Regions from separate parts of the Homo sapiens genome. Here all the other regions are linked to region 1. Evidence: promoter capture Hi-C in 16 types of primary human blood cells and fetal thymus (Javierre and others, 2016). All regions are on one chromosome and are shown on one strand. Each heading gives the region's core, a stretch centred on a gene start or on the middle of the fragment in contact. The rest is flanking DNA. Distances are from core to core; before and after follow the strand shown. Region 1 holds the start of WDFY1 (WD repeat and FYVE domain containing 1). Region 2 overlaps ACSL3 (acyl-CoA synthetase long chain family member 3). Region 3 holds the start of MOGAT1 (monoacylglycerol O-acyltransferase 1).

What was found. Contacts are between HindIII fragments. The CHiCAGO score rates a contact against its expected background, and 5 or more counts as called.
Region 2: a fragment that was not itself captured here is called in contact with the fragment with the promoter of WDFY1 in region 1 in 2 of 17 cell types (M0 macrophages and total B cells); the score reaches 7.0 in M0 macrophages.
Region 3: the fragment with the promoter of MOGAT1 here is called in contact with the fragment with the promoter of WDFY1 in region 1 in 4 of 17 cell types (M0 macrophages, M1 macrophages, M2 macrophages and 1 more); the score reaches 17.7 in M0 macrophages.

The regions. Positions count from the first base shown.
Region 1 is chr2:223,944,052-223,946,751 of GRCh38, forward strand. It overlaps WDFY1 (WD repeat and FYVE domain containing 1), which reads right to left and starts at 1,284. Exons shown (of 12, transcript NM_020830.5): 1 at 1,097-1,284. The coding sequence starts at 1,233. LOC124907989 (a long non-coding RNA gene) reads left to right here. Exons shown (of 2, transcript XR_007088100.1): 1 at 1-356. RefSeq lists enhancers at 96-215, 226-285 and a silencer at 856-1,035. The HindIII fragment of the contact is 5,306 bases long and covers 1-2,700 here.
Region 2 is chr2:222,910,880-222,913,579 of GRCh38, forward strand. The region is part of intron 4 of ACSL3 (acyl-CoA synthetase long chain family member 3); the gene reads left to right. Among named protein-coding and RNA genes, the nearest start is that of ACSL3-AS1, 7.4 kb to the right of the region's middle. The HindIII fragment of the contact is 960 bases long and covers 810-1,769 here.
Region 3 is chr2:222,670,226-222,672,925 of GRCh38, forward strand. MOGAT1 (monoacylglycerol O-acyltransferase 1) reads left to right here and starts at 1,433. Exons shown (of 6, transcript NM_058165.3): 1 at 1,433-1,654. The coding sequence starts at 1,561. LOC124907985 (a long non-coding RNA gene) reads left to right here. Exons shown (of 2, transcript XR_007088095.1): 2 at 411-777. The HindIII fragment of the contact is 3,409 bases long and covers 1-2,619 here.

The DNA.
Region 1 (2,700 bases), core at 34-2,533:
AATAAATGCATCCAAATATTTTTAAAAATGAGTCACTTTCACAAAAACCTATTTAGTAAATAAGAGTTCAGGTGATTCTAGCAGCCGTGGCAAAAATAACTGATCTAGAGGCCTGGCGTGGCGTGAAATCCCTGAGTACAGGGGGAGGAAGAGAGCGAAGGCGGCTGGAGTTCCTCGCAAAGAAGCAAGCCCCGGGCACCAGGGTCCGCAGTGACCAGCCGCCGGTCCTCCACGCTTCCAGAGGAGACGATTTGGAACTGACCCGGGAGGGCCAAGAAACACCTTCCGAGTACCAGGCTAAACCCCGCCAGGGAGAGAGACCGGGACGAAGGTCCCAGGCTAGTGCGACACCGCAGGTCGGGGTTCCCTGGTTGGAGGAGCGCGGTGGGCTGGGAGGGGCGCGTTGGTGCGCACTGGAACAGGGGTCCCCGGCTTGAGCAGCGCGGTGAGACAGAGTTCCCGCGCTGGAGGGGCGCGGTGAGACAGAGGTCCTGGGCTGGAGAGGTGCGTTGGGGCGCACTGGAACCGGGGTCCCGGGCTTGAGTGGCGCGGTGGGACAGAGTTCCCGGGCTGGAGGGGCGCAGTGGGACAGAAGATCCGGGCTAGAGGGGCGCGGTGGGACGGAGCTCCCGGGATGGACGGGCGCAGTGGGACAAGGGTCCCGGACTGGAGGGGCGCGTTGGGGAGCATTGGAACAGGGGTCCTGAGCAGGAGGGGCGAGGTGGGCTGGGAGGGGCGCGGTAGGGCGCACTGGAACAGGGGTCCTGGGCTGGAAAGACACGTTGGAACAAGGGTCCCGGGCTTGGGCGGCGCGGTGAGACGGAGTTCCCGGGCTGGAGGGGCGCGGTGGGACAGGGGATCCGGGCTGGAGGGGCGCGGCGAGACCGGGGTCCCAGGCTGGAAAGGTGCAAGTCGAGGCTGGAGGACCGGCGGGAGGGAACCGGGAACCCGGCGGAGCTAAGGGGCGCAGAGTGGGGGTGGGGCCGTGCTGCCGGGGGAGCCCCCTCACGCAGGAAGGACCGGGGCCGCGGACCCCACCGCCCCCACACCCCGTCGTCGCGGAGTTCGGGCCGCCCCGGCTGCGCCCGGGCCCTACCTGTCCTCGCTGGCCGTGATCACGCCGTCCTCCTTGGGGATGAGCAGCGCGGCCGTGACGGCGTCCTGGTGCCCCTCGATCTTGCTCAGCAGCACCGGGCGGCTGCTCTGCGGCCTGGAGTGGATTTCGGCCGCCATGTTCGCGCGGCGACTGCTGCGGCCTCCTCGGCAGGCAGCCCATCAGCTGACGCCTGGGCGGGCGGGGGACGCGCCGGTTTCCCTTCGGCTGCTGGGGCCTCTTGGGCGCCGCGCCGCCGTAAGCCCCCGAGTGCTGCCGCCGCACCGCCCGTATTGCCTGGGGATGCCGCGCAAGCTGAAAGTCTGTGGCTGGGAGAGGATGCCACGGGGCGCCTGCGGAGAAATGGGGAAAGTAAGGAAGGTTTAAAAGTAAAGCCATTCACCCAGGAATAAATTGAGCACCTGGAGGGGACAAGGAATTGTCCCCCAAACCAGAGATTTCAGAAATTACAATACTACATTTCATCCATTTGAAGAAGCCATTGTTTGAAAGGCACACACTTTCAGAAATGTTAAAATGTGAAAAAATATAGTGCATCTTAGAATCTTTGAACTACAATAGATAGCACTGAGTGGTGACCATATACCAGGCATTAACTCAGTGTCTTTGCATCTCATTTAATACTGATAATTTTAAGAGATGAAATAGATGCTCTTGTATTCCCATTTTAGAGATGAGAAAACAACCAGAGAAGTTTGATCACTACCTTAAGGTTGCACAGCTATGAGAGGGAGAAAAGCAGCCCTTGATCTCCAGGAGCTGCCTGGTACTATCAGCTGAGCTTTGGTGTTGCTAGGAAGTGTTTGCTTCCTGTGGAACATAAACATCAGACGAGGCCACTCCATAATCACATCTAAACACGGCCAAAATATGAGCGATGTACAAGCCACAGAAATTACCAAACATCCCCCTATCCTGGCTAATATGAGTGACTCTTATTTCTTTATTAATTATAATGTTAACCGCTATCTAGTCTTCCTCCATTTAGATAAGATTTATTAAGATATGCAACCTTAGAATTATACGCATTTCCTGACAACATCCAGTCCACAGGAGAGCCTCTCTTCCTTAAGCTCTCCCAGGTCACCTAACACAAACACAAATCCTATAATAAAACTGTCCGAACATCCCTTTACCCAGACACCTCACCATTCCCAATGGTGTGTCTTCTCCCTCCAACAAGCAATCAACCCCATTTGTTCCTGGTGGTTTTTGGCTAGAGGTCATTGACAACCAGTAAGTTCAAGAGCCAAAATTTGGACTCAGGAAGTCAATGACTCCAAACTTCTGCCCCACTATATTATTCTGACACCTGAATTGCAGAATTGCATTAGAACCGTACTATCCACATGACTATAGAGCACTTGAAATGTGGCTTGTCCAAACTGAGATGTAGTACAAGTGCAAAATACTACAAGATTTTATAGACTTAGCACAAAACAAAAAAGATGTAATATAGTTCATCAATAATTGTTACAATGATTACATGTTGAAATGATACTATTTTGGATATATTGAGTTAGATACTATTAAAATTAATATGACCTGCTTATTTTTTTAAGGTAGCTAATAAAAACTTTAAATTA
Region 2 (2,700 bases), core at 40-2,539, 1.0 Mb before region 1:
TTTTTTTCTATTTAAGATCTCGCTGAAGTTAATAGCACATTTCTAGAAATTGAAATCATGAGTTAAGCATGTTTGATTTTTCTTTTCCAGCCTATGGATTGTAATTTCCAAAACATTTTATCATAATGAAGTTTGCTTTTGTCATATTTACATATCTGGCACTGCCTTTTTTTTTTTTTTTTTTTTTGAGATGGAGTTTCACTCTTGTTGCCCAGGCTGGAGTGCAATGGTGCCGTCTCAGCTCACCGCAACGTCCGCCTTCTGGGTTCAAGTGATTGTCCTGGCTCAGCCTCCCGAGTAGTTGGGATTACAGGCATGCGCCACCACGTCCGGCTAATTTTGTGTTTTTAGTAGAGACAAGGTTTCTCCATGTTGGTCAGGCTGGTCTCGAACTCCCAGCCTCAGGTGATCCGCCCACCTCGGCCTCCCAAAGTGCTGGGATTACAGGCATGAGCCACAGCGCCCAACCAGCACAGCTTTTTATGGCACTCTGTTCTTGAGTCTGTTTTTGAGAAATCGGGTAGTTATGAGAAGGTACTGAAAACAGTACATTTTTATGTGCAAAAGTTTTCTACTTTTCTATCTGCTTATAGATTCATTTTTTTGTCTTTGATATGCTATTTGAATTCAAAGGTTGGATTCTCTTTTAGTCTAAGCATATATACAGAAGTCTTATGTTTCAGGAAGCTTCGTTTTTCTCCGGTATCCCACACATATTTTATTCATTTTAATGTGGCTAGTATTGTCTTTCAGTCGTCATTCGGTATGTACAGCAGCAAACTAGTTCTCAATTGTGTAAAAAGAAGAAAAGCTTATGTGGTGAATATGAAATTTCTTCCTAATTCGTGTATCAGTATAACTGGACAAAATAAAATCCTAGAGCTATGATAGTTGTTTCCTAAATGTGCGTGTGTAAGTGTATGTGGCTCTTTCCTGCTTATCTTAACCATAGTGCCTTTGTATTCAATGATTATTCAACAAAGTATGAAGTATTTGAACTCATAAAAGTTAGGTGAGACAGACTGTTTTTTAGCAACTTTTTCTGTCTATAGTTCATTACTGTGAAGTTTTATTTAGTTAGTAAAAGGAGGTTTTGAATTTCTATATGTCAGAAGATCTGCCTACTAGCATTTGCTATGAAATTGGCATTTGTGGTTCATCAAACTTTGTTCAGAAGGCTGTGTCTAGACTGTGTCTTGGGAACATGTTATAGTTTTCTTTAGGTTCATTGGGAAAGTAGAATTAATTTTTAGATTTTGCATATAATAAATGAAACAAGTAGTTTCTCTTGGCCATACTCAAGAAGAAAGTGTGCAGTGTCGCTGGTTAGCTGAGGCTTTAGTTTCTGTTCATTCTGTGTTGCAGCTGTGGCAGTGATCTGCAGACTGCAGAGTGGGTATCTCAGCTGCATGTTAAACATGCTAGGCCTTTTTCGTTTTCCCCTCTCTTGGTTTCTTGTTACACCCATTGCATTGCATCAGTAGCAGCATCTGCCTAGGGTGTTGAAAAGGGGAACTTTCACAACTGGTGGGTTAAGCTGTGTACTTTCTGCTATTAGTGCCTGCTAGCTGATCAAGCTCAGTGAAGTGTGTCTTCATTAAATAGTTTCCATATTTGAAGATAATCTTCAACTGGAAAAGAAAACGAATGTTGTAGCAATATTTAAAATATTTTTTGAGTAAGACTTTTGGGGATTAACCCCAGAATGTTGTATCTGATATGGTTGAAGGAAAGATGCACAAGCCTTATTTCAAATTAATGAACTTTGAAGCTTTGTTTCCATCTTATCCCAACAGTCTATTTTGAGGTCCTGAGGGGAGGATGAGTGGATGAAAAAAGGCAGTGGCGATGACCCTGCTCTCGTTGTGTCCAAGGTAGAGTAGCCACCAGCTTCACTACGACCAGATTCTTCCTTGGGGGACAGAAAAACAAAAGGCACTTGGTTGCTTGGCAGGCCTTTTCAGGGTCCTTTTAAGTTTCATATGGTTTTATAAAACTGTAGCAGAGTTAAGAGCTGGAACCTGTGTCAGCATCACCTGATTCCAGTGTTCCCAGCAGTAAATGCATTGCACTAACGTCGTCTTGAAATGAACAGTGAAATGATTTCAGGACAACCTTAAAATACATGTATACCTGAAATAGAACAAAGCTGCAAAGACTAAAAATAGAAACAGAAAAGAGTACAAGCTGGCTCATATACTTTGTGAGCCATCAGAAACACTTGATTTTTTCTTAGATATTTTATAAAAATAAGAAGAGAATGAGGGATTATGTAATATGGTGCTTAGAGAAGACTTCACTATGACATTCCTTCTAAATTGATCCAAAAAGATAATAGAAACACTCATTTATGTCCTTGTAAGTTGACTTAGCTTTCTTTTCCTCTTTCTTAATGCCGTCTTTTGTGTTATTTCTTAGTCACATTTTTTTACCCTGTTTGTGTATGTGTATAAAACTTATTTTCTGATTTATTAGGACATTTGCATCATGCTATATGTAACAAATTATGGTCAGTCTCTTGGCTGGGATTTGTGGGTTGGTTATTATATTACTCTTCTCTTAGTTTCCCCTTCCAAACTGTCCCTCTCCTTTCATCCTATTTATTAAAGGCACTGCTGCATACCAAATTGTTGAAGCCAAAAAATCAGGGGTGTCTGATTTACATCCCTTACAGCCTCCCCCCGCCTTTTTTTTAGCAGG
Region 3 (2,700 bases), core at 183-2,682, 1.3 Mb before region 1:
CAGTCTGCAAGGGTCTGGACCTTGCCCACCATTTTTGCCTGATGTCACCCCAATCTCACCCTTGTCCCCCAAGCTCTCACTCTTTGAGCTCTTCTTGGAGTTCAGCCACAGGACCTTTGCATATGTGCTTCCCTTTGCCCGGATGACTCCTGGGTTAACTAGATTTGGCTACAGCTCAAGTAAGGGCACTTCTTCAGACACTTCCCTGACCGTGCAGCAGTCTTGGTTTTGGAATCTTCTAGTCATTCACAGTAGGGTCTTACTTGTAATTATACACCAAATTGTGTAGTTGTTTTGCTTATGTCTGTTTCCCCCTGTACTCTGAGAACAAGACAATGAATAGCTTGTGTCAGGCCTCTGAGCCAAAGCTCAGCCATTATAACCTCTGTGACCTGCATGTACACATCCAGGTGGCCTGCAGGAGCCAAGAAGCCTGGAGCAGCCAAAAAAAACGCAAAGAAGTAAAACAGCCAGTTCCTGCCTTAACTGATTAACCAACATTACAACATTTTACCATTGTGACTTGTCCCTGCCCTACCTTAGCCGATCAATCGACTTTGTGACATTCTTCTTCTGGACAATGAGTCTTATGATCTCCCCACCCTGTACCTTGTGACCCCTTCCTCTGCTAACAATAGATAACCACCTTCTACTGTAATTTTCCATTACCTAGACAACTCCTATAAAGCAACCCCTTCCCCATCTCCCTTCGCTGACTCTTTTTCGGACTCAGCTGACTTGCACCTAAGTGAATAAACAGCCTTGTTGCTCACACAATGCCTGTTGGTGGTCTCTTCACACGGATGCGCTTGACAGCTTGGTTATCCAAGCGCCCGGATGGTGCTCAGCAAGTGGCAAGTGCTCAATAAATGTGGGTTGAATGAATGAATGGGTGAAAGATTCCCGGAGCTCCTGTAGGGAACTGAGGACCCAAGAGTGAGGAAGCCAGGTCCCCTTCCCCATCCGCGGGGAAATTGGAGGTTGCGGGGGGACACAGATCAATAAACTAAGAAACAAGTCTCGCTCATCTCTCCAGCTGGTGTGCGATTCCTCAAACTAACCCTTCCCCAATCACCGAGGGTTCGAATGAAGGGGTGGGATGCTGAAGGCAAGCGCTGGGTGATCGATCAGCTGAACAATGGTCAGATCCTGGTGGAGATCCCAGGTCCTCAGCCAGGCGGCAGGAGCCCGCGCTGCCCGGCTCGGGCTGGCTGCCAGTTGACCCCTCTCCCCGTCCCTCGTGTCCCACGCGGCGCACTCTCGCCAACGCCCGGCGCGCCAGCCAATGCGCCCGGGCCGCTGTAGCTGCTCCGGGGCCAGGGCGCTGGGCCAGCTCTGGCGCCCGGCGCTTGTGATTGGCTGCCCCCAGCCTCAGCCCAGCGCGCCCTCCCACCCAGGGCGCAGTTGGGTCCCCGCTCGCTGCCTAGCCTCTGCCTTTTCCTCTCCGCCCAGCCAGTGCCCAGCGCGGGGCCCGGATCCGGCCGGGCACTTCCCACAGGCGCCGCAGAGCAGCGTGGGTGCAGGCTGCAGTGGCTGGCGCCGTCCTCGCCCGGCCAGGCCATGAAGGTAGAGTTTGCACCGCTCAACATCCAGCTGGCGCGGCGGCTGCAGACGGTGGCCGTGCTGCAGTGGGTCCTGAAATACCTGCTGCTCGGTAAGGACCCCGCCCCCCGGGCCGCGGGGCTTGGGCTCCATATCCTCCCTCGGGACGGTCCGGATTCCAGGACCTGCATAGAACCTTCCAACCCTCGTTCCCCTGTCGGCCAGAGCAGGCAGGTCAAAGAGGGCATTTGGAGCTAACGTGGACTCTGGTTTCCTCACGAGAACCTCATCGCTAACGACTGTTTAATTTTATTTTCTCCTGCGTTACTTTTTTAAATTGAGGTGCACCTTGCCTACAATAAAAGGCGCAGTTATACGGATACAGCTCGATGACTTTTGGCGACTGTATCTACCAAAATGTAACCATGACCCCATCGAACGCATGAGCACTTTAACCCCTCAAAAGTTGGCAAACTCGTTTCTCGAACTGTTGATTCATAGATGGCAAAGTAATGCCTCAGTAGTTAAAACCTTGTTCCTTCTCCCTCTTTGTCTCCCCACCCTCCTGACAAAGAGCAGTGTTCCCTTTCCCGTTTTGGAGATTTCCTGGATGCATAGCAGTACCTTTCTGTAAAGAAGGCTGCACCACTCATTGCATTTGGTTGAGCGGTTTCTCTCTGGAAATAGTTTGACTCAGTAGCGTGTGTGTTCCAGTTGGTTCCCAAGTTGAGCCCATGAAACATACACGAGCCGAATCATTAGATGGGGCAAAAACGTGGGTGGTTTTTCTTTTTGTTTTTTGTTTTTTCCTTCATATTTGTTCTGCTCTTGAAGTAAATAGGGGTGATGTGGGAGGAGGGAGGAATTTGGGGGAGACCCTTCTATTGAAACATAAACTCTTCTGAAGACTAAGATCATGTGTATGCTGTAAGATCATGGATTGTACAGCGTTGGGGTGGTAATAATAGTAATAAGCCCATTGCATTGGAGAGTTTTACACTTTTAAAACTGCTTTTACATTTCGAAAGCCTGAATCAGTGGTTCTCAACCCTGGCTCTAGATGAGAATCACTGGAGAAGCTTCTAAAAAGTGCAGATGCCCAGGCTCCATCCTGGAATTTGTTTATTATTATTATTATTATTATTATTATTATTATTA